Linked DNA regions of Homo sapiens: regions 1, 2, 3, 5, 6 and 7 are each linked to region 4. The links are contacts of gene promoters, found by promoter capture Hi-C in blood cells and fetal thymus (Javierre and others, 2016). All regions are on one chromosome and are shown on one strand. Each heading gives the region's core, a stretch centred on a gene start or on the middle of the fragment in contact. The rest is flanking DNA. Distances are from core to core; before and after follow the strand shown. Region 1 overlaps LOC107986954 (a long non-coding RNA gene). Region 2 overlaps PSKH2 (protein serine kinase H2). Region 3 has its middle 40 kb from the start of PSKH2. Region 4 holds the start of CA13 (carbonic anhydrase 13). Region 5 holds the start of PSKH2 (protein serine kinase H2). Region 6 overlaps ATP6V0D2 (ATPase H+ transporting V0 subunit d2). Region 7 overlaps ATP6V0D2 (ATPase H+ transporting V0 subunit d2).

Evidence for each region. Contacts are between HindIII fragments. The CHiCAGO score rates a contact against its expected background, and 5 or more counts as called.
Region 1: a contact is called between a fragment that was not itself captured here and the fragment with the promoter of CA13 in region 4, in 7 of 17 cell types (M1 macrophages, M2 macrophages, total B cells and 4 more). The highest score is 12.0, in M1 macrophages.
Region 2: a contact is called between a fragment that was not itself captured here and the fragment with the promoter of CA13 in region 4, in 3 of 17 cell types (M2 macrophages, M0 macrophages and monocytes). The highest score is 8.9, in M2 macrophages.
Region 3: a contact is called between a fragment that was not itself captured here and the fragment with the promoter of CA13 in region 4, in 6 of 17 cell types (M1 macrophages, M0 macrophages, neutrophils and 3 more). The highest score is 8.9, in M1 macrophages.
Region 5: a fragment that was not itself captured here is called in contact with the fragment with the promoter of CA13 in region 4 in 1 of 17 cell types (M2 macrophages); the score reaches 8.2 in M2 macrophages.
Region 6: a fragment that was not itself captured here is called in contact with the fragment with the promoter of CA13 in region 4 in 3 of 17 cell types (M2 macrophages, monocytes and M0 macrophages); the score reaches 10.9 in M2 macrophages.
Region 7: a fragment that was not itself captured here is called in contact with the fragment with the promoter of CA13 in region 4 in 4 of 17 cell types (monocytes, M2 macrophages, M1 macrophages and 1 more); the score reaches 9.3 in monocytes.

Annotation. Positions count from the first base shown.
Region 1 is chr8:85,974,974-85,978,042 of GRCh38, forward strand. LOC107986954 (a long non-coding RNA gene) reads right to left here. Exons shown (of 4, transcript XR_001745984.1): 3 at 2,109-2,236; 4 at 1-816. Among named protein-coding and RNA genes, the nearest start is that of PSKH2, 93 kb to the right of the region's middle. The HindIII fragment of the contact is 1,098 bases long and covers 1,151-2,248 here.
Region 2 is chr8:86,048,870-86,051,951 of GRCh38, forward strand. All of the region lies in intron 2 of PSKH2 (protein serine kinase H2), which reads right to left. Among named protein-coding and RNA genes, the nearest start is that of PSKH2, 19 kb to the right of the region's middle. The HindIII fragment of the contact is 2,595 bases long and covers 397-2,991 here.
Region 3 is chr8:86,027,662-86,030,797 of GRCh38, forward strand. No RefSeq gene overlaps it. Among named protein-coding and RNA genes, the nearest start is that of PSKH2, 40 kb to the right of the region's middle. The HindIII fragment of the contact is 1,592 bases long and covers 852-2,443 here.
Region 4 is chr8:85,243,770-85,246,890 of GRCh38, forward strand. It overlaps CA13 (carbonic anhydrase 13), which reads left to right and starts at 1,689. Exons shown (of 7, transcript NM_198584.3): 1 at 1,689-2,096. The coding sequence starts at 2,060. RefSeq lists a silencer at 1,944-2,023 and an enhancer at 2,384-2,493. The HindIII fragment of the contact is 11,713 bases long and covers 1-3,121 here.
Region 5 is chr8:86,069,001-86,072,173 of GRCh38, forward strand. PSKH2 (protein serine kinase H2) reads right to left here and starts at 668. Exons shown (of 3, transcript NM_033126.3): 1 at 438-668. The coding sequence starts at 622. The HindIII fragment of the contact is 2,573 bases long and covers 103-2,675 here.
Region 6 is chr8:86,105,736-86,108,542 of GRCh38, forward strand. The region is part of intron 1 of ATP6V0D2 (ATPase H+ transporting V0 subunit d2); the gene reads left to right. Among named protein-coding and RNA genes, the nearest start is that of ATP6V0D2, 8.2 kb to the left of the region's middle. The HindIII fragment of the contact is 3,923 bases long and covers 1-2,807 here.
Region 7 is chr8:86,125,196-86,128,251 of GRCh38, forward strand. The region is part of intron 2 of ATP6V0D2 (ATPase H+ transporting V0 subunit d2); the gene reads left to right. Among named protein-coding and RNA genes, the nearest start is that of ATP6V0D2, 28 kb to the left of the region's middle. The HindIII fragment of the contact is 392 bases long and covers 1,520-1,911 here.

The DNA.
Region 1 (3,069 bases), core at 450-2,949, 730 kb after region 4:
AGGAGCAGAATGCAGGTGCTACTAAAAGAATTAAGACACAGGACTGATGACTCAGGGAAAGGTACCCAGGCAGTTACAGGGAACATGTGAGCACTGACTGCCTGGGCATGAAAGACCTTGGCAAACTCTGTTATATTTTATCTCAGCCTGAGGCTGGCCATTGATAAATTGTGTCTAAAACATACTCTCAGTGTCCATGACTACCCTCCACTACAAACGACATTGGCTCCTTGCCCTCCTGTTTATTAAAAAAAAATTATTGAGCATCTGCTTCATAACCATCAGTAAGTGATGTCTTCATACATAGAGAGTAGTGAGCTACTAGTAATAAGTCAATGACCAACTTTCTTCTGTTCACTTTCTTAGTTGAAATATTATCTATGCATTTCACCTACTATGTACTAAAAACATCTGTGAATAACTCATTGGGATTCAGTGACCCAGATGGACAAAGTGCCGGCTCTCAAAAAGCTTAGATTCTAGTGGTGGGAAATAAAATAAACATGAAAAACAAACAAGAAAAGGACTAGATAGAGTGTTAGTACTTTGAGTTGGGTGGTCAGGAACTAACTCTCTGAGAAATGCAAATTTACTCTCAGATCTGAACAGTAAGTTTAGCCAGTCATATAAATATTCTTCCAGCAGAAGGAACAGCTAGTGCAGGAGAAGGAAACATATTTGACATGCATAAGAAATAGAATTCTCCAGTTGAACATGTTCTCCATTTCACCTCCTGGATTTTCTACCGGTTTTCCATAAGATGGGACGATTTTCAGCTAGCATTCTCTTGCAAGTTGGATAATTTCCTGCCCTGTTCTGAAAATGACACCAAAAAGAGTCCAAGTAAGACCTTTCTCAAAATTGCTTTATATCCAGAGCAATAGCCTAGAAAAAGCATGTCATTTCTTTAACAAAGTGTTGGGGGTTTGTTAAGGTTCCATTCATGCTGAACACTTTATACGCATGACCTCATTTAGGCTTCACATCACTCTTATGATAAGGGAAAAATATTATCTTGCTATTATAGATAACTACAGCACACAGTTAGTAAGTGGTAAAGCTAAGATTCAAACTCAGGTTTCTCTGGAGCTTCCTCAAAGAATGCAGAAGCAGAGGAGCCTATGAGTAGAAATGACACTACTCAGAAGCAAGCTTCTACTTCTGCATACTGTGCAAGTGACTAAGAGGTTAATGGAATCTCCAGCTGTGCCTCTATGACCAGAATACATGCACATGCACTCAAACTCACACATGTACTCACAGACATACACACACATACACACACTCACTTACACACACATTGAAAACCCCAGCTGTCTAAACCCTTCTCATTTCTGATGGGTGATATCCTCACATAATGGTGAGGAACACCAGCATTACTATACAAGGAGCACTATGTTGTCTAAAAAACTGGGGCCTCAGAAGTTTAGGAAAATATACCAAAGAAGGAAAAGAAGTCTTTAGGTTGTGCAAAATGGGAAACAGAACGTATCAATTAGGTCTTTTGTTTAGTGGAATACAGCAATTTTTTTTTAAATCAAGTCTGATTTCTCAAGAAGTTTGTAATCTAAATGGGGAAAAATTAATATAGGGAACTACTTTAGCAGGGGTAAGCAATTATCTGAGAATGGAGATTTACATGTTGGAAGAGGAAAATTAAAAAAAAATACAGAGTTCAATAAAGACAATAAACAATGACCACTAACAGAGATCGTTATTATTATATCAACACAAAGCGGTTCATTTAACTAAATTTTACTGAAAGTTTTAAAACCAGTCTGCCATTTGGAAAGCAGCCAGATCTGAAATATCAAGTATATTGTGGATACAAGAGTAGTTCTTCAATTATGCAGAGCATCCAGATGCGCTAGAAGATGAAAGTAAGAGAAATTTAAAAGGAAAAAATCGTAGAGTGGAACAGGGTACATCCTATTATCTGTTAGGTACAAACCAATAGACATTTTAAAATTACCATAACCACAATGTTCCCTTTGATGTGGGCCCCTTAAGAGAGTTACAGAGAGCTATGAGGCTGTATCATCACATATCTCCAGATTAAAGCCTGTCAGTAACAATATACACTGATTCACTGCAGGGTTGAAACATACCTGTGTAATCAAGCAGGGAATCCATGGATCACTGGTATAGAGCATCAGCCACAGTCTCATCAAAGGAGAGATTGTGATTGGTCATGGCTTTGCCATTTTTATAATTGCTCTTTTTGAACCACAAGTTACTAAAAGAACAAAGCTTTTATCACAGATAGAAAAGAAAATGTTTTCTTATATTAAGCTAACCAATTAAGTTAGTTCTGGAAGGTTTCTCTTTGTCTAAATCGGAAATGCTTGACAATACTTTTAAAACCATTTTTAACATTCACAATAATTTGATTTATATGCTATTTATCAGACATACATTACATGGACATACATACATAAACCATGTAAAACCGTGTCAATGATATACTATTCAAATACGCACACACATACATATGTGTGTGTGTATATATATGTATGTATATATATATATATATGTATCCTCAGAGAGATACTGGATATTGAATTAAGGAACACAGCAAGTATAAGGTCTTGGAAAATAAAAAATATTATAGCAGAAAAATATTTCAACAAAAAGGCTCAAAGATAAAGAAACGTGATACAGAAGTCAAATATCTAATAATTGAAGTTCCATAGGGAAGAAAGAAGACAGATGAAAAGAAATGATCAAAAGAATAAATCACAAAACATCCTAGAATTTAAAGACTTGAAATCCAGATTAAAAGGCCCACTGAGTCCCCACTATAATGAACAACAACAACAAAATGATTTAAACAGGGATAATCATTATGAAATTTCAGAATATAGGAATAAAGAGAAGATTCCAAAATTTTGAGAGAGAACAAAAAGATCATTTATTAAGGATCAGGTATAAGAATAATATCATAGTCTTAAGGCAACACTAGAAACTAGAAACAAATAGGGGTACATTGTCAAATTTTTTATGAAAAAGATTTTCAATCTTGCATTCCATACCCAGCCAAGCTATTAATCAAGAGCAATGGTGGAATAA
Region 2 (3,082 bases), core at 444-2,943, 810 kb after region 4:
TCCAAAAAACTTTTTCAAATAAGCAGTTTTAATACTGTGTCATTACATATATAGAGGAACTAAACCACTTTTGAGGGAGGAAAAGAAAAAACTTTCACAGAAGAAAAAGACAAACACAAACACAGAAATTCTCTTCCAAACTCTTTGTCCAATGAGTGAGAAAACCTTCTCAGAAATCTGTCCATTGTGCTGTTGTTATCAATACGAGTTCCCATACTGCATTTACGGGAGCTGGACAAGGCAAAGCAGCTGTCTTTTACGAACTATGTCAACATCAGGTCAGTGTTTGCAACACTGTGGTCATCTCACAGAGTTCCTGTGACTTCAAGAATGAGAAGGAGTAGAAGGGGAAAGTGGAATGGATTGAGAAATCATCAACTTTTCCCTCCCTTTGAAAGCTTACTCTGAGCCAGGCACAGTAGCTCACGTTTGTAATCCCAGCACTTTGGGAGGTTGAGGAAGAAGGATCGTTTGAGTCCAGGAGTTTGAGACCAGCCTGGACAACACAGCAAAACCCCATCTCTACAAAAAATGTAAAAATTAGCCAGGCACAGTGGCACATGTCTGTAATCCCAACTACTCAGGAAGCTGAGGTGGGAGGATTCCTTCAGCCCAGGCATTCAAGGCTGCAGTGAGCTATGATGGCAGCACCACACTCCAGCCTGGGTGACAGAGTGAGACCCTGTCTCTAAAAAGAAAGAAAGAGGAGAGAGAGAGAGAGAGAGAGCGAAGAGGGGAGGGGAGAGGCAGAGAGAGAGAAGAGGGGAGGGGAAGGCAGAGAGAGAGAGAGAGAAAGAGTGAGAAAGAAGAAAGAAAGAAAGAAAGAAAGAAAGAAAGAAAGAAAGAAAGAAAGAAAGAAAGAAAGAAAGAAAGAAAGAAACGAAAGAAAGAAAGAAAGAGAAAAGAAAGAAAAAGAAAGGAAGAAAGGAAGAGAGAAAGAGGAAGAAAGAAAGGAAGAAAGGCAGAGAGAGAGAGAAAGAGGAAGAAAGAAAGAAGGAAAGGAGGGAGGGAGGGAAGGAAGGAAGGAAGGAAGTGAAGTGCACTTCCTCAAACACACTGGGCCCTCACTGTTCCCAATCAGCTGAGAACAAATAGATTCAACATGTAACAAATAGATTCAAATAGATTTGACTACAAATAGATTCAACACGTAACAGCTATGACACAGTACAATATGCACAGCTAAGTAGTTCCTATTTCAGGGATTTATAGTGGCAGTGTTTACAGCAATTGCACATACTTTAAATACAATAGCAGCACTTCATAGTGGCATTTCTGAGCATGGGAATAAGAAGGCTGTTGCTTTATATTCAAATTTGCTTTCTGCATTATCTGCTGAGAAAGAAAAGAAACAATTTAATCTGAGGAATGCAAGCCCCTTTAAATTATCAGGCCAAGAGAGGCACTGAAATATAACAGCCTTCACTTCTCATTCTCCTCTTGTGCTAAATAATTACCTCTTGAAGCCACTTGCTATGTGGGCTCTACGCTATCTAACACCAAGTAGCCATAAAGTGCCATAGGTTGGACACCATCACTCATACCCCACAGTTCAACAATATAGCCAATCACTAATCAATGTTATTTATGTAAACCAGTGTTAATTCCTCTCAAACAACTTTGTATCAGCCCAGACCTAAGAGCACACGCCCCACAGAAGTTAGGACGTTTTCCAGAGCAGCTGTCCCCACTTTGGCCTGATCAGACAAGCTCTTAAAAACTATATTTTGTGCCTCAGCCTCATCCTGTAGGTTGACTCTACCAGCACATACCGTATACCCGGAAAACACTACAGTTTAGTGTCCTTTGTCCTCTGCAAAAGAGAAACATTGAGAAAATTGCCCATACGTTTGCTGTATCTCAAACACAATTTCTAATTGATGTGTGTTTTTAAAAGATGGTATTTCCAAGGAAAGATAAGGGAATCCTTCCATGTATTGTCTCTGCCATTGTGTAACGATAAAGCAGAGTCCATACATAGACATCACATTCTCCAATCTCTTAGCACCCTATTAACTCTATGTTTTGTTTTTTGTTGTTTTGTTTTGCTTTTTTTAGAGATGGGGTCTTGTTATATTGCCGAGGCTGGACTTGAACTCCTCCTGGTCTCAAGCCATCCTCCTGCCTCAGTTTCCCAAGTAACTGTGACTGCAGACCCACTCCCACCCCCACCCATGCCAACTTAACTCAGAATTTGTTTGTTTGTTTGTTTTTGAAATGGTGTCTCATTGTGTTGCCCAGGCTGGAGTGCAGTGGCATGATCGTGGCTCACTGCAACCTCCGCCTCCCGGGTTCAGGCGATTCTCGTGCCTCACTCTCCCATGCTGGGAGAGTGCCTCACTCTCACATGCTGGGATTACAGGCATGTGCCACCAAGCCCAGCTAATTTTTGCATTTTTGTAGAAACCGGGTTTCGCCACGTTAGCCAGGCTGGTCTCAAACTCCTAACCTCAGGTGATCCGCCTGCCTCGGCCGCCCAAATTGTTGGGATTACAGGCGTAAACACTGCCCCCCGCCTTAATCCAGAATTTGAATAATAAGAAACCAGTAAAAGAACTCTTCTTTTTTTTCCTTCAGTGTATTTAGGTAAATGAGACATGAGAAATATTTATCCCAGAAATAAAAGTTATAAAATAAATAAGCATATCTGACAAATACTCAAACACAGGAAAAACAAAATATAAACTCTGCAAGTCTAGAAAAAGCACATCAGTGACTGACACTCACAATGCCATGCCCTCTGGTTCTGGCTAGACATCTATTTGGCCCTGAATCCAGACAAATCTATCTGAGCTCAAGACTATTTAAATGAAGGTTAAATTAGATGGCTCCTCTGGAACATTTTAAGACAAGCAACTGAATCTTTCTGAAAGAGTATAAAATATGTGCAACAAGGTTTATGGAGAGCTTATTAAGATGACCCCAAATGATTGTACGTTTAAAATGCAGTTGAAGAAAATAAAGTAACCGGAGAAAAAGTTCTTCAGCCAAAGCTTATTATTCAAACATGAGTTATAAATTGCAGAATTCCTGAGCCATAAAGGACAACTGGAGAGTATCTAGGAGTCAATTTCACATTTCA
Region 3 (3,136 bases), core at 398-2,897, 780 kb after region 4:
GTGAGCGTAGTACCCAGCAGTTAGTTTTTCAAACCCTGACCCCTCCCTGTCTCCCCCATCTAATAGTCCCCTGTGTCTATTGTTGTCATCAGTAATACTGTTTTCAAGTCCATTTCACAGATGAGGCTTTAAGGGGTTAAATCGCTTAGTCAAGAGAGAGCCAGTATTCAAACTCAGATCATCTAAAGCCAAACTTCTATGTTCTGAACTGCTGTGCCGTACTGCTACTTGTCTCATCCCAGAACTCTGCTGAGGAACCACAACATTGGTTACAGCATTTGAGACTCTTTTAATGGCCAGAGTAACAAATGCAGTCATATTTATGCTAAATGGTTCTCTTCCTTATTTTCCAGTGTGGAAACCTCAAAAGGGAAGATATATGCCAGCCAGAAAATATATCCTCTTCCAGACAGTAGTTAATTGCAATGCTATTTTGTAATGTAAACTGTTTTTCCACTGCCATCCCTGAAAGCATAGCATGAAAGGCTCTTCCCAGGCCAGCCACAGCCTCACCTCCCAGCCTCCCTTTTTATCACTGCCCACCACCTGCCCCTACCCCTTCACACTCAACGTCTCTCTGATCTTCAGATAAGCTGTGCTCCCAAACATCATCATGCCATATGCATACATTTCTTCTTCCTAGAATTCTCTTTCTTCTTTCTGCCAGGTGGTGAGCCCCTACTCATCTTTGAGGACCTAGTTTGTGTCACCTTCTCTCTATAGCCTTACTTGACTCGCCTAGGGAGAGTGAATTACTCTTGTCTGCACTATTGCGTGTTTCCTTGAATATCACAAGTATTGCTCTTATTTGCTTTATTATCACTATTTTTTCAGTTATTTATTGTCCCAAAAGCTTGTCAGTAAATATTGGCAATATTGTAAGCCCTGCAACGGAAAACTGTGATTGCAATTGCTATTCTCTGCATTTCAATTTCCTTCTGTCAACATGTGCTTCTCTGTTATGCTTGTGAAACATAAAGTCTTACATACACAAAATAACAGATGCTTTCTTTCCCACCCCAGGTTCAACCAACCTGTTACCTTTAAATTCTATTTAGTTTTCAGCTTCAAGTTCATCATCAACCTCTGATGACTGGGCACTCACTTACAAATTAATAATTAGAACTTAGACATTTTCTTGGCTAATAAAGAAATTGGTCTTGAGCTGTGTGGGTTTGAGTGGAGTCAAATATGTATTTTCAAATATTGCGCTACTCCCAAAGAGCCATTTCTCCCTATAACCGTAGCTGTTAGTTGGCAGAATAATTTCTTAAAGGAGCAAGATTCATTAATGTCTTTACATAATAAATATTTAGTGTGCCTTCCAGGTACCAAGCACTGTGTGAGATCCTGAGGAAATAAGAGCTTCATAGACTTTACAGTCTAGAGGAAAAGACGGGCTCAATTAGCAATCATTCAAACCAATATATAATTCCAACTGTACAAATGCAATAGTGAATATGGGTGCTCTGGACAAAAACAAACAAACAAACAAAAACAGAGACTAAGGATTCCAATCAAGTCTCTCTCAGAAAACAACATTTAAATTGAGACATAAAAAGTGAGCAATAGTTAACCAGGAAAGAGAGGAGAAAATGTTCTGGAATAAGATAGTAACCAGCTGCTCAATTTTGTATGGTCCAGATGTATATTTAGCTTGGCTTCTAGACATGACTACTAAAGTATAGAGTTGTTTCCTAAGACAGTGGACATAACTCACCTTTTAAAATTTCTATTTAAAGAAAATATTCACTACATTTAAACACACTCCTTGATCAGTTGGCTATTAATCAAGATTAATTATTGCTATGCCTTAAAAACTGTGGGAAAGAATTATGGGAAAAGTGACTATAGAGAGCTAGGCTGAAAAGAGTGATTCCAATTGGGTCTTGATTGGTTCTATGAAATCATGAAGAATCCATCTGAATCTCAGTTTCTCAGAATACATGTGGTCCATCATGTATGGAACACTGGGGAGTGAAGTCAAGGAGCTAAAGAGGAGAAAGGAGTCCTGAGCAGAGAGAAGGCCTGGAGTTGGTGCACGGGGCAAAGTGGTCTGTAAGTCAGAGAGGAGCAGTCAAAGCGGAAGATGCAAGCAAGGGAGCTGCGCCTCTTCAGCCTTTCAAAGACTCTTGGCACGCCCACATGAAGAGCCAGCAGACTCAATGTACCCATAGCTATGCTGGTTTTATTCGCCCTCTCTGCACTCCAGCCACCTCTGTAGAGAATCTCCTTTACATTCTAGGTCTTTTCCAGATCCAGGAGAGATTTCAGTTAAGAGTCTGACACCTTTTAAGGTCCATCATGTAAGACATATTTACCATGTATTCTTTCTGAAGCCTGTTACCTGGAGGCTTCTTCTATGTAACAAGAAACTTGGCTTCCACAACCACCCTTATCTTAACTCAAGATTTTTTTCTGCTGAGTTCAACTCTTCAGGCAAAGCTTAACTCTTTCAACCAATTGCCAATCAGAAAATCATTGAAAGTGCCTGTAGCCTGTAAGCTCCCACTTCAGGATGTCCTGACTTTTCATACCAAACCAATGTATATCTTACACATATTGATTTATGTCTTTGCCTGTAACTTCTGTCTCCGTAAAATGAGTAAAACAAAGCTGTAACACAACCACCTTGGGCACACGTTCTTAGGACCTCCTGAGGCTATATCCCAGACCATGATCACTCATATTTGGCTCAAAATAAACCTCTTTAAATATTATGTAAAGTTTGGCTTTTGAAGTCAACACAAGAGTAAAACTCTTAAAAAGCAATTTCTGTTTAGCTTCATAGCTTTTGGAGGCCAGGATATGAAAGGATTAGATTGCCGGGAGATAACAAGTGAGGGCTGGGCAGAGTGGGGGTGGGGGTGGGGGCTAGTGGCCCCTGTGCCCTGGGTGTGTGGCAGTAATGGAGAATGTGTTGGAAACATCTGGAATGCAACTTATATGAGCTCTTGTGGGGCTGGGAGCAGCAAGGATCACACTCCAGGGACTCACAAAGGGCATTGGCCAAACTGAGCAAGTCATGTCACCAGTGATGGGGGATAGAATTGTGGAGGGGGATTCCCTGAGGGAGGCACAAAACCCGCCTTATCTGCCAAGCTGCATTCATAGACAGGGTGGGAATTCTAGGGAG
Region 4 (3,121 bases), core at 439-2,938:
ATTTGATTGTTGCCAATACTTAGGTTGCTGTTTTAGAAAATTATATAGACTGCGCTATGAATTTAAACAAGAAGGAACTTGAAACCACTACTGCAAAATTATAATTGAAACAGTGAAAGAGATTGGACCTAACCAACTCTATCTTATTTCTAACTTCTAAGCTGTCCTTACTCATTCTTAGGCATAGGCTGAACTAACTTTGAGGAGGAACATAGTTTATAGTTTAGAACAAAGACAATAACAGCCCTTTCCCAAAACAAACCTTCTTTCCTGGGGACTGGACCGCCTTTGCAGGACTAACAAATTAGCCAAAAGATTAGAAATTATGGTTTAGGAGTCATACAGCTGGAGGCTGTATGATTCTGACCCTCCCCAAATTGCTCCTGGGAATAACATCACTATTGTAAAGCCTAAGACCAGTGCTTCAGATATGTTGCAGACCCTGCACTGGATGGATCAGCAGGCACCACTCAGCTCGATAAACTGGCTCATCTGATCCCATGGCCCCCACCCAGGAACTGACTTAATGCAAGACAGCTTTGACTCCCTATGATTTCACCTCTGACCCAAACAACCAGGTCTCCCGACTTACTGGCTCTCCTCCACCCACCAAATTGTCCTTAAAAACTTTGATCCCCAATGCTTGCGGAGACTGATTTGTGTAATAATAAAACTCCAGTCCTCTGCACAGCCGGCTCTACGTGAATTTCCCTTTATGAATTGCAATTCCCCTGTCTTGATAAATCAGCTGTGTCTTGACAGTGGGCAAGGTAAACCCATTGGGTGGTTACAAACTGTGTACCCAAGCAATAAAAGTAACAATTTGGGAAGTATTTGAGACCCACCAACCAAAATTTCTTTAACAATTTTGGTCTATTCAGTCATTCATCCATTCATGTAACCACTATTATTGGGTGTCAAGAACTGATACTTACTTAGAACGTTAAGAGCATTATTCATCTTGACATACCAAATCATCCGAGTTACTGAAAATTGGTTTACTAGGTTCCTTACAAAGAGGTTGCTTGGATTTATAAAATATGAGGCAGTTGACCCGAGACAAGGACGTAGAAAGTGGTTCATGTACCCAATTTTTATTTTTCACTTTGAACCCAGAACATTCACGACTCCAGGCCAGAAATTCAAGACTCTGCAGCTAGTTCTGACTCCAGTCCTAGGGTAACAAGCCCACCAAGAATCCAGGGCAGATGTCCTGAAAACCCTTCTTGCGGGGTCAGGAGGGCAGCAGAATTTTGGGACCAAATCTCAACAACTGGTTTTGGTTTCCTCACTCACCAAGCCACAAGCCTGCAGAGTGAGAAGAGGTAAGGAAAGGATGAATGGGCAATGGAGCCAGCCCAGGACCGGGAGCTGGTCCTCTCTAACAGCGACCCCGCCCGCTTTAGCTGAGCGACCCGGGGCAGGTTACATAGTGTCTCTAACTTAAGCCACGTGTTTCTCGAGGAAATGCTGAGAGGATCTAATGGGAAAACGTGGGTACACGTCTTAGCTAAGACCCTCGCCCACGATAAGCCCTTAATAAGTAGTTATTTTTCAGTGGTGGTGATTACCATCGTCATTATTGTTTTGTATTTGTAATCATCACTGCCACGACCATCACCGACCTCTTTTACGCCTCCACCGGGATCCCCACCTCCCAGCCTGGCAGTTCCAGGCTCTGGTGACTCATTCACTTCCTGGAAGTCCTCTAGGCAACACTTTCCTCTCCCGAGTGACGACTCCTCAGAAGGCAGGAGATCCCCCCCGGAAACCTTTCTCTCTCCGTCTCTCCCTCTAACTCAAATCTCTCATTCCCGAGTCCAAACTAAGAGAGACTCGCGCCCCAGGAGTCAGCCAGCGGCGCGGGCGCCTTCCCCGCACGCCTCTGCCGTCTGGAGGACGCAGGCGGGAGCGCCCCGGACCGGGTTCACGGTCTCGCACTCCTGCCGCCGGCGCCCCGCGGTCCCGCCCTAGCAGGCTCCTTCCCGGGCCCCTCCCCGCTCCCTCCTCTTTCTCGCTGCTCAGTCACATCTTTCTCTTCCTTCCACCCCGAGGGACCATGTCGAGGCTCAGCTGGGGATACCGCGAGCACAACGGTGAGCGCCTTTTCCTGATCCAAGGGGGGGTTTGTGCGGGGGACGAGAGGACTAGCGCGACGCCCCGGCGCTCGCTGACCACACACTGGGCTCGCACATTGAGAAACTTTTTCGGTTCCTCTTTAAACTAAGCAGCACTCCTGGGAGCCCAGTGCGAGAAGCGGAGAGCAGTCTTGTCAGGGTAGACGGGTTGTTGGTGGTGGATGTGAGCGTTGGTGTGTGTTATCTCTGTCAGGATTCCCCAAACTCCCAAGTGTTCATACGTGTGAGTTCACCTTCATCTGAAAAGCCAAGGACTTTGCCTAGTAACAGCCACGTATCAATTACAGGCTTGGAGATCAGAAGTCTGATGACACACTTCAGTGAAATAAGGACAAGTTCGCTTTCAGTCTTTTAAGCTCACTATTCACTTAGGAGAAACAAATCATAGAAAATCTTTAAAAATATATTTAGGAAATCTTAACTTGCATTGTGACACTGAAGATTAAGTTGGCTTCGTGGCAAACAAAATACTGCATGTTTCCTAATAGTTGTTACTGTAAATATTCCCACAGCAATTTGCAGTTGGCTGACTACTACTGGGGACTTTAGTAAGGGTTCAGGTTCTCGCTGGGAAATTAAGTTACATTGTGGGTTACTTCTCCACTCTTCTTCTCCACGCTCATCCTTGCAGGGTGAGCAAAGGATTACTGAAATTATAATTCATTGATAGAAATGTATTAATAGGATAAATAATAATGACATACACTTTTCTTCTTGTATATCACACATTATCAAAAGTAAAACATTTTTTCTTGTTCCTACGTTAAACTGAACTGATTGTTTAAATAATAATTATTTGAAATAATCGCAGTGACACCAAAAAGCCTTATAGTGAATAACTGTCAAAATTAAGGCTTAGTTTAGCCATTCCTCAATGTGCATATATTTCAAAACATCATGTTGTACACATAAATATATACAATTTTTGTCAATTTAAGAAGTAAATACATAATAAAGAAAAAAATTAAGGCTGTGAATAATAA
Region 5 (3,173 bases), core at 139-2,638, 820 kb after region 4:
AGTCGAGGCTTCTGCAACAGGGGAAAGAAAATGGACGCCTTCGAAACAAAAGGCAAGAAAGTTTTTAAGCGCTGGGGTGAGCCAGTGGAAAAGAATGGGAGAAGCTTAGGGAGAGGTGGTCAATGAGATCTGTGTTTGCTACCTGGCCCTTATGGAAGTTAGGCTCCTGCCCTCCCACAGAGACTGGGAGACAGTGGCCCTAACTCTCTTGATGACTACATTTCAAAGGGATGGCTGCCAGGTGCCTGAAAAAGACACTCTTGGGTTGTAGAAGATTTACATCTCAAAAGGGCAGAGAAAGGGGGAGATCAGTGCCTATCATCCGAAAGAACCCTGTCCAAAATTGAGTCAAGCTGAAGGGAACCTCGAGGCGGTCTTGGCCAGGGGTTTTTCTTTGTCAGCCCAGTCCCAGGCCAGTTCCTCACGTGGCGCTTTACCTGGCAAGGACCCGGGGGTCGAACTTGGCTCGGAAGCGAGCCACCTGTATCCTCTGCGCCGCCTGGGCCGCCGCCTCGGGCCCAGGCCCCGCGCCTCCGACGCCGGCTTGGTTTTGACCTTCGTGCTTGGCCCAAGCCAGCGCTGGTGGCCCCGGGACCACCTTCCTGCTGGCGCCGCACCCCATACCCGCAACACGCCCGCCGCTCGCGGGACCTGGGGACTCGGGAAGCAGCCAGCCCCGTTCCTCCGCCCTTTATCAAAGAGCAGCTGCGAGGGGCGGGACCCTCGGAAAGAAACCCCACTGGGGGGTCGTGGTCAGGGAGACAGCCCCCAGGATACCCGCTAACGACCGAGACGCCTGGATCATCGCTGGTCACCGTCTGTGTGTGTAATCTGACGTGATGAAAGCAAAGTCAACCAACAGGCAGAACCTGCGCCTAATTGTCTGGGCTTCACTTTCTGCATCTCTAACCTGACAAAGTGAACATATAAAATTATACGATTGTATAAAGGATATCGTCCCTCTAAAGAACTTTTCGCTGAGCTCATATTCGGATGACATGAACATTAAACATACATATATATATATATTTAAAATTCTAAGAGCTTATAATATTTAAAGTATAACTTCACTGCCTTCTATTGCATTAAACGGATGACAAAGGCCTGTGTCTGGCACTCATGACCTTCATCTTCCGGGTAATCCATCTAAGAGAGAAAAACTGAGGGCCACGATAGATGTCTAGAACCCAGACGAACACCCTAAGCAAATACAGTGAGAAAACCTGTATATACATATACAGTGTATATACAAAACCCGTATATACAAATATAGTGAGAAAACCTGTATATAGATATAAATATATATAAATAAATATAAATATTATGTATGGTAACTTTACATTTTCTATATATTTCATTCTTGTATTATTTATACATATTATACATGTATGTGAATGTGTGTATATATATTATACACACACAGTATTATAATACTTATAAATATTTATCATTTTGATAAATGTATATTGATTATATCACTATATTGATTAGATTTCATTGATATTTGTCAATTATATTCATTCACACACACACACACACACACACACACACACACAAATGATGTGTGGGAAATGAAATCCAGTCACGACCAAGCAAGTCAAGATCACATGCCTCCCAAGTTGTAGAACCGGAACTGGAGGCTGCTTCCCGATTTCCAGGCCAATGCTACTTCAATTTGTGTAATTTCCTTTCTAATTTCATTTAATTTGTAGTTTGGCTTAACAGGGAATGTCTGTGATGAATAAATTAGTCATGAACTTTCCCAGAGCTATATTTTGATGGAAAATTTAAAATACGGCTTGCATATAGCTGAGGGAAAATTAGTTCATCCTGCAAAGAGAGCATAACTACCAAATAATGGACTTTTCTTCCTAAAGAACCCTCAGAATTCTCCAACTACTAAGAAACAAGGAAAGAAGGTTTATTTTAAGCAGGTAAACAACTCGTTCTTATATGTCTCGAGCTTTTGAACTAATTTGCAGAATAGGCTATCTATTAGGTTAGAGCAAAAGTAATTGTGTCTTTGCCATTAAAAGTAAAGGCAAGGCCGGGCATAGTGGCTCACACCTGTAATCCCAGCACTTTGGGAGGCCAAGGCATGTGGATCACCTGAGGTCAGGAGTTCCAGACCACTGTGGCCAACATGGTGAAACCCCATCTCTACTAAAAATACAAACATTAGATGGGCCTGGGGGTGCGTGCCTGTAGTCTCAGCTACTCAGGAGGCTGAAGCAGGAGAATTGTTTGAACCTGGGAGGTGAAGGTTGCAGTGAGCTGAGATCGCGCCACCACTGCACTCCAGCCTGGGTGACAGAGCAAGAGTTCATCTCAAAAGGCAAAAGCTGCAATTACTTTTGCACCAACCTAACAGTATAAACAGAATGGAAGAGAGAAATAAAGGGAACAAACTGAAGTCAGATGTTAAGGTACTACTCAAAAAAACACAAAATTTTTTCCTCAGAGAGCCTGTTGTAAGGATTGTTTGCATAAGGATCGCACAGCAAATAGGAAGCATCTGCTATAAAACCTAAACCTGGGCAGCAGTGAAGGCGCCAGACACTTCCACGAGGCAGGCAGTCCCTCTGCCTGTCCACCTTCTCCCAGCAGTGAGGGCCTTCATAGTAGGCTGCAGAAACCTCTTCTGTCCTGTCTGCAGCTGGCCGCACAGCAGAGAAAGCTTTGTCACAAGCCTCCCACTAAGTCTAAACCATGTTCCTTGAAAATTGGAAAACACAGTCGCTGATTTTAAAGCCCTTAAAAAATGAAAACATTGATGAAACCACTGATTAGTTCTCTTTTGGAAAGCCCCAACTATTAACTAGAAGTGTTGTTGATGTAAATACTTTGCCTGGAGACAAAATTTAAGTACCTGTGCATTTGAAACTTTCACTTTCAAGGACTTCCACTAAGCTCTGAAATGTTAAAATGGTCATAAGTATATCCTTTTAATATGACTAATCTCAGAAAGAATAATTCATAAAGTAACATATAGAAAAATATCCAAATACATAGACTCTCCTGCATGTATTTCTCTTTATTGTGTATAATTGCTTGATTATATGGAGACCACTCAAGCATTGTTTGGGACCATTTGCTATTCACCCATTAATTAACTATTCATAGTTATTTCAATTATATATTTAACTTAATTAAAGTAATAAAATGTTAAAATA
Region 6 (2,807 bases), core at 272-2,771, 860 kb after region 4:
TCCCGAGTAGCTGGGACTACAGGCACCCACCACCACGCCCGGCTAATTTTTTATATTTTTAGTAGAGATGGGGTTTCACCGTGTTAGCTTGGATAGTCTCGATCTCCTGACCTCGTGATCTGCCCATCTCGGCCTCCCAAAGTGCTGGGATTATAGACGTGAGCCACTGTGCCTGGCTGCCTGTAAACTTCTTAAAGGCAGAAAGTACACCTTAAACTTTTCTCTCTCCTACCTCCCTAAGCCTAAGAGTGTATTTTGCATGTAGTAAGAATCTGAAAATACACACTGGAAATATCTACATATTGGGTTCAAGTCCTGGATCTTCTGCTTTATGGTTCTGGGATTCTAAGCAAGTGCTTAACCTTTAACATGGTGCTTTTTTTTTTTATTTTTATTTTTTTATTTTGAGACAGGGTCTCATTCTGTTGCCCAAGCCAGGGAATGCAGTAGTGGGTAGCGTGATCATGGCTCAATGCAGCCTCAATCTCCTAGGCTCAAGTGATCCTCCCACCTTAGCCTTTCAAGTACCTGGGACCACAGGTGCATGTCACCAAGCCTGGCTAACTTTTTTGTCATTTGCAAAGACAAGGTCTCACTTTGTTGCCCAGGCTGGTCTTGAACTCCTGGCCTCAAACAATCCTCCTGCTTCAGCCTCCCAAAATGCTGGGATTACAAGCGTGAGCACTGATAAGTGCTTTCTTATCTCATCTTTAGATGGTATCTCCGTGGCCTAACTCCCAGTTCACTGGGAGGATCCAAAATATCTGAAGATGTTTTGTAAATTGTAAATCTTAACAATACACCCCTGCACTGTAGTTTACATACAACAAGAATTTGTTTTCCCTCTTCTGCTAGACTTTGGAATTCCTGAAATAGTTCTTTCCATTTTATGGTTTTGGATAGTGGCATTTGGATATGAATCCATTTAGTTTATTCTGTTCTTCAGAGAGCACCAGTTTTGAAAATATTTATTTTGGTAAGTAAAAATTAAAATGAAGATTTTCAACCCTAGTAAGATTTACTGGACTGTATAATGAAGTTCTGTGGGGCCACTGCTACATGGATCTTAAGTTTTAATCACAAATTAATATTTGAGGCTCATTTATGTGGCAAAAAAATGCATTTGGAGCTGTGGAGAGTACAAAAAAGAACAGGCTGGATGCAGTGGCTCATGTTTGTAATCCTAGCACTTTGGGAGGCCGAGGCAAGAGGATTGCTAGAGGCCAGGAGTTCAAGGTTGCAGTGAGCTATGATTATGCCACCGTACTTTAGCCTGGGTGACACAGCAAGAATCTGTCTAAAAAAAAAATGACACCATTTACTACCTAGACAACTGTGTAGTTGATAGGATGTCACAAATAAGTAAAATGAGATAAAAATTCAGAATCCAAAAATGGTTCAAACCTATTGATAGCAGATATACTTGAAGGTGAACCAAATCTTGAATAATAGATTGATAAAAGGCCATGAAATGGGGTTTCAGGAGGAGAAGAATTGAGATGTCAGGACATTCAGCAAGCAGATAAAACAAATGAATTTAAAAAGGGAAAAAATAAAAGCCTGTGGATGGGGAGTATATCAGTTAGGCTGCAATACTAGAATACTTGGAGAGAAGGCTGGAATTCAGGCTGGGAAAACTCTGAAAAACCTTGAAGGTTTGATTTGAAGTTTCAAGATCCTGACGCTAACACTGAATGAGGACAAGAGTCAGGTATGATTCTCAGTTAACTACTTGCCAGCGTGGAAAACAGGAACAAGTTACTTCTCTGAGCCTCAGTTTCTTCATCTATGAAATAGGATTATTGTTAAAGTTAAGAGATTATGTATACTAAAACCATTCTGGCAATGGTAAAACGCTCTACAAATTTTATAAAAGTTGTTTTTAATCTGCCTAAAACTTTTCAGTGGCTGCAAGCTATTTTTAGGATCATTACAGTACCAAAACAATTCTTAGGAAAGATTAAACTTGAGGCGGGGAGCACATGAGGAGAAATGAGCCTGGGAAAATCGATTCAAAGATTGCTGCAGTAATCGAAGTGCCAGATGTTATTCAAAACGGGAGTGAGCAGCAGAAATCAGGGAAGAAATGCAGGGCATTTGGAGTAATAAAGCACCAAAGAGGACTTTGAAGTTTCAACACCCTGAGAACGGCAATATATTAGCAAAAATGGAGAAAGAAGTGTCTGGTTGTACATCTTCCGGTGTATTTATTAAAAGTCTGAGTAATTACCAGATTTGATGGTTGATTCCAATATGTTAGTTGGAAAAATTCTGGTTTAGAGGATAAAAGCTGAATTCCTTAGCAATTTATTTTGGAGATAGGTGGGTACAATTGAAAAAACAATATTTTGTGGTGGATTCTCTATGCTGGCTCTTTACCTACCTGAATCATCTTTTTTTGTTTGTTTGTTTCTTTTCTTTTTTGAGACAGGATCTCACTCTATTTCCTGAGCCAGAGTGCAGTAGCTTGAACACAGCTCACTCCAGCCTCCACCTCCCAGGCTCAAGCAATTCTCCCACCTCAGCTTCCTGAGTATGGGGACCACAGGCATGTGCCACCACACCCAGCTAACTTTTTTTTTCTTTTGTAGAGTTGGGGTTTTGCCATGTTGCCCAGTCTAGTCTGAAACTCCTGGCCTCAAGCAATCCTCCCACCTTGGCCTCCCAAACCCCTTGGATTAGAGGCGTGAGCCACTGTACCAGACAACCTTGTTTAATCCCCAAAACAACCTGAAAGCGTAGACTATATCCATTTTGTAGATGAGGAAACTGAGTTCGGAAAATTCAGATAATTTCCCTAAGTTCAG
Region 7 (3,056 bases), core at 466-2,965, 880 kb after region 4:
TACAACAACAGTTTTGAGTGGGATACAAATCAGTACCAAGGTGGGCTTGGGCAACTGTATGGCAAGGCATCAATCAACCACCAGGAGGCGATATTGATCCCAATAACCTGTTTTCCAAAACACTACTCCTTCCCCAGTTGTTTAGTTTAAGAGATTTGAGACTGTCCCATAACCTTCATTTTCAGGATGGAGACTGAAATCCACACTTATCCATTGTCCTAGTTTTATTTTAACTTGTTTATTTTTTAACTGAAAATAAGCACGTGTGTTTAAAAAATGAAAGAGGTTTTTTACTAAAATGTATTTTGTGCTCACTACACAAGTTAGTACCTTTATAATCACTTTCCTGTATTAAATTTAATAGATTTTCACAGCAACCCTATGGAGTGGTACTAGTATTGTTGGCTTTTTAGAAATAAGACGATGGATTGAGTAAAGACTATACTTCAGAATTCATGTCACAGAGCCCAGAGGTAACCACTCAAAACTTTCATGCATATCTTTCTAAACTTTTTCCTTGTGAAAAATGTTTTTTTATATGTGCATGTGTTTATATTTAAACACAAATATAAATATGCATAGTTGGGCTTATTGTTTGTTTTAGAACAGTGAGATCATACATGTATTGTCCACAATTTGTCCTTTTAAAATGTAATCTATTATAATTTTTGCATAAATATATAAAGATATATTTTATTTAATATATTTTTAATTTATGTATTATTTACTTAATTTAATTCATTAACTTATTTGTTTTTCTGAGACAGAGTCTCACTCTGTCACCCAGGCTAGAGTGCAGGTGTGTGATCTTGGCTCACTGCAACCTCCACCTCCTGAGTTTTAGTGATTCTCCTGCCTCAGCCTCCTGAGTAGCTGGGATTACAGGCATGCACCATCATGACCAGCTAATTTCTGTATTTTTATAGAGACTGGGTTTTGCCATGTTGGCAAGGCTGGTCTCGAACTCCTGACCTCAAGTGAGCCACCTGCCTCAGCCTCCCAAAGTGCTGGGATTATAGGCGTGAACTACCGTGCTCAGCCTATATATATATATATATATATATATATCTTTTTGTATATAGTATAAAGTTCAGGTGTACATGTGCAGGATGTGCAGGTTTGTTACTTAAGTAAACGTGTGCCTTGGTGGTTTGCTGCACAGATCATCCCATCACCTAGGTATTAAGCCCAGCATCCGTTGGCTACTCTTCCTGATGCTCTCCCTCTCCCACTCCCCTATAGTTATTTATTATCTGTAAATAACTATGTTTGAAATGAACATGTAAAACGACTTACTCAAAAGCACACAGCTCTACAGTGGCAGAATTAGTACTGGAATCCAAGCCTTATGTCACACTAAATATGTATTAAATATTTGTGAATGAATGAGCTAACTAGTCCTTATGTTCATCACTGCTACTGCCAATGTATATAGAAAATTTATTTCACCCCAGGATAAATATAAATACAGAAATTTAGAAAGAAAAAAGATATCACCTCTAGCTGGAGACAATTGAAAAGCTTCATGAAAAATATGATACTAGAATATGGCCTTAAAGGATTGGTAAGGAAGGGAAATTTTATACCTCTGGAGAAGGGTAGGAACCAAGACATTAATGTAGAAAAGGACAAGTTAAGTTTGAAGAATTTTTAATCTAAACAGTTGGGTTAGACCAAGATTGTAGAGAATCTTAAATACTGAAGAGGTTTCTTAAAATTCCAGAGCAACCAAGGGCTTGGGAAATGCAAAGTTATCAGCATTCTTGTTCTAAAATATGCTATTATGGCAATGCTGACTTGTAAGTAACTTTTCAGTATTTTATTTTGCTTCAAGGAAAAACAAGTGTGACAGCAAAATTGTTTGCTTTTTCAAATTATTTTAATTTTCACTTCCTCTATTTAAAAAAGGGAAGCTTCAGAGAAGGAAGAAATGTTACCAAAAATGTGAAATTTTAAGAGAGAGAAGAATGTTTATGGGGATATTCTAAATTCAGCTGACTAGGAAATCACGCGATATGACAGGGTTTCCCCATGTAAGCATATGTGGTTAGTGCTGGATTGAACAAATCCACAGTATAACAAAAAATGTTTACCAATGTAATCAAGGAAAACTTTCATTTGAAAATTCATACATTGAAAAAGTGTGAAATATATTTGGTGTACTTTTATAAATTATTTAATTCCTCAATGAAACTCGTAAATGAAAGGTGCCTTTCACACACACACACCGATCCTTTCCATGAACAATGACCCCTGAAATGCTTTTTTTTTTTTAATTGAGACAGGGTCTTATTCTGTCACCCAGGCTGCAGTGCAGTGGTGTGATCATGGCTCACTGCAACCTCAGCCTCCTGAGTAGCTGGAACTACAAGCAGTCACCACCACACCCAGCTAATTTCTGTCTTTTTTGTAGAGAGGCACCTTTGCCATGTTGCCCAGGCTGGTCTCAAACTCCTGAGCTCAAGCGATCCGCCTGCCTTGGCTTCCCAAAGTGCTAAGATTACAGGAATGAGCCACAGCTCCCAGCCTGAACATGCATTATATGTCCCTATCCTTGTACATTCTGTATGTATAATTGTTACCTAGCCAACATCTCACATAGTTCTCTGGTCACCTAAAACAAAATGGTTGTCATTAAGAATTAGATTACATGTTGCAGATGAAGGATGTGGATCTGGCCTCCTAGGTAGAAAGGAAACCTGTAGCAATCAAGGCCTGATAAAAGGATGTGGCTTTCTGGGCCAGGCACAGTGGCTCATGCCTGTAATCTCAGCACTTTGGAAGGCCATGGTGGAAAGATCACTTGAGCCCAGCAATTAGAGGTTGTGGTGAGCTATGATTGCGCCACTTGGGTTTGGATGACAAAGACCCTGTCTCTAAAAAAATAAAATAAAGCTGGGCAGTGGCTCATGCCTGTAATCCCAGCTCTTTGGGAGGCTGAGGCGGGCAGAGACCAGCCTGGCCAACATGGTGAAACCCTCATCTCTACGAAAAATACAAAAAATTAGCCGGGCATGGTGGTGGGTGCCTGTAATCCCAGCTACTCAGGAGGCTGA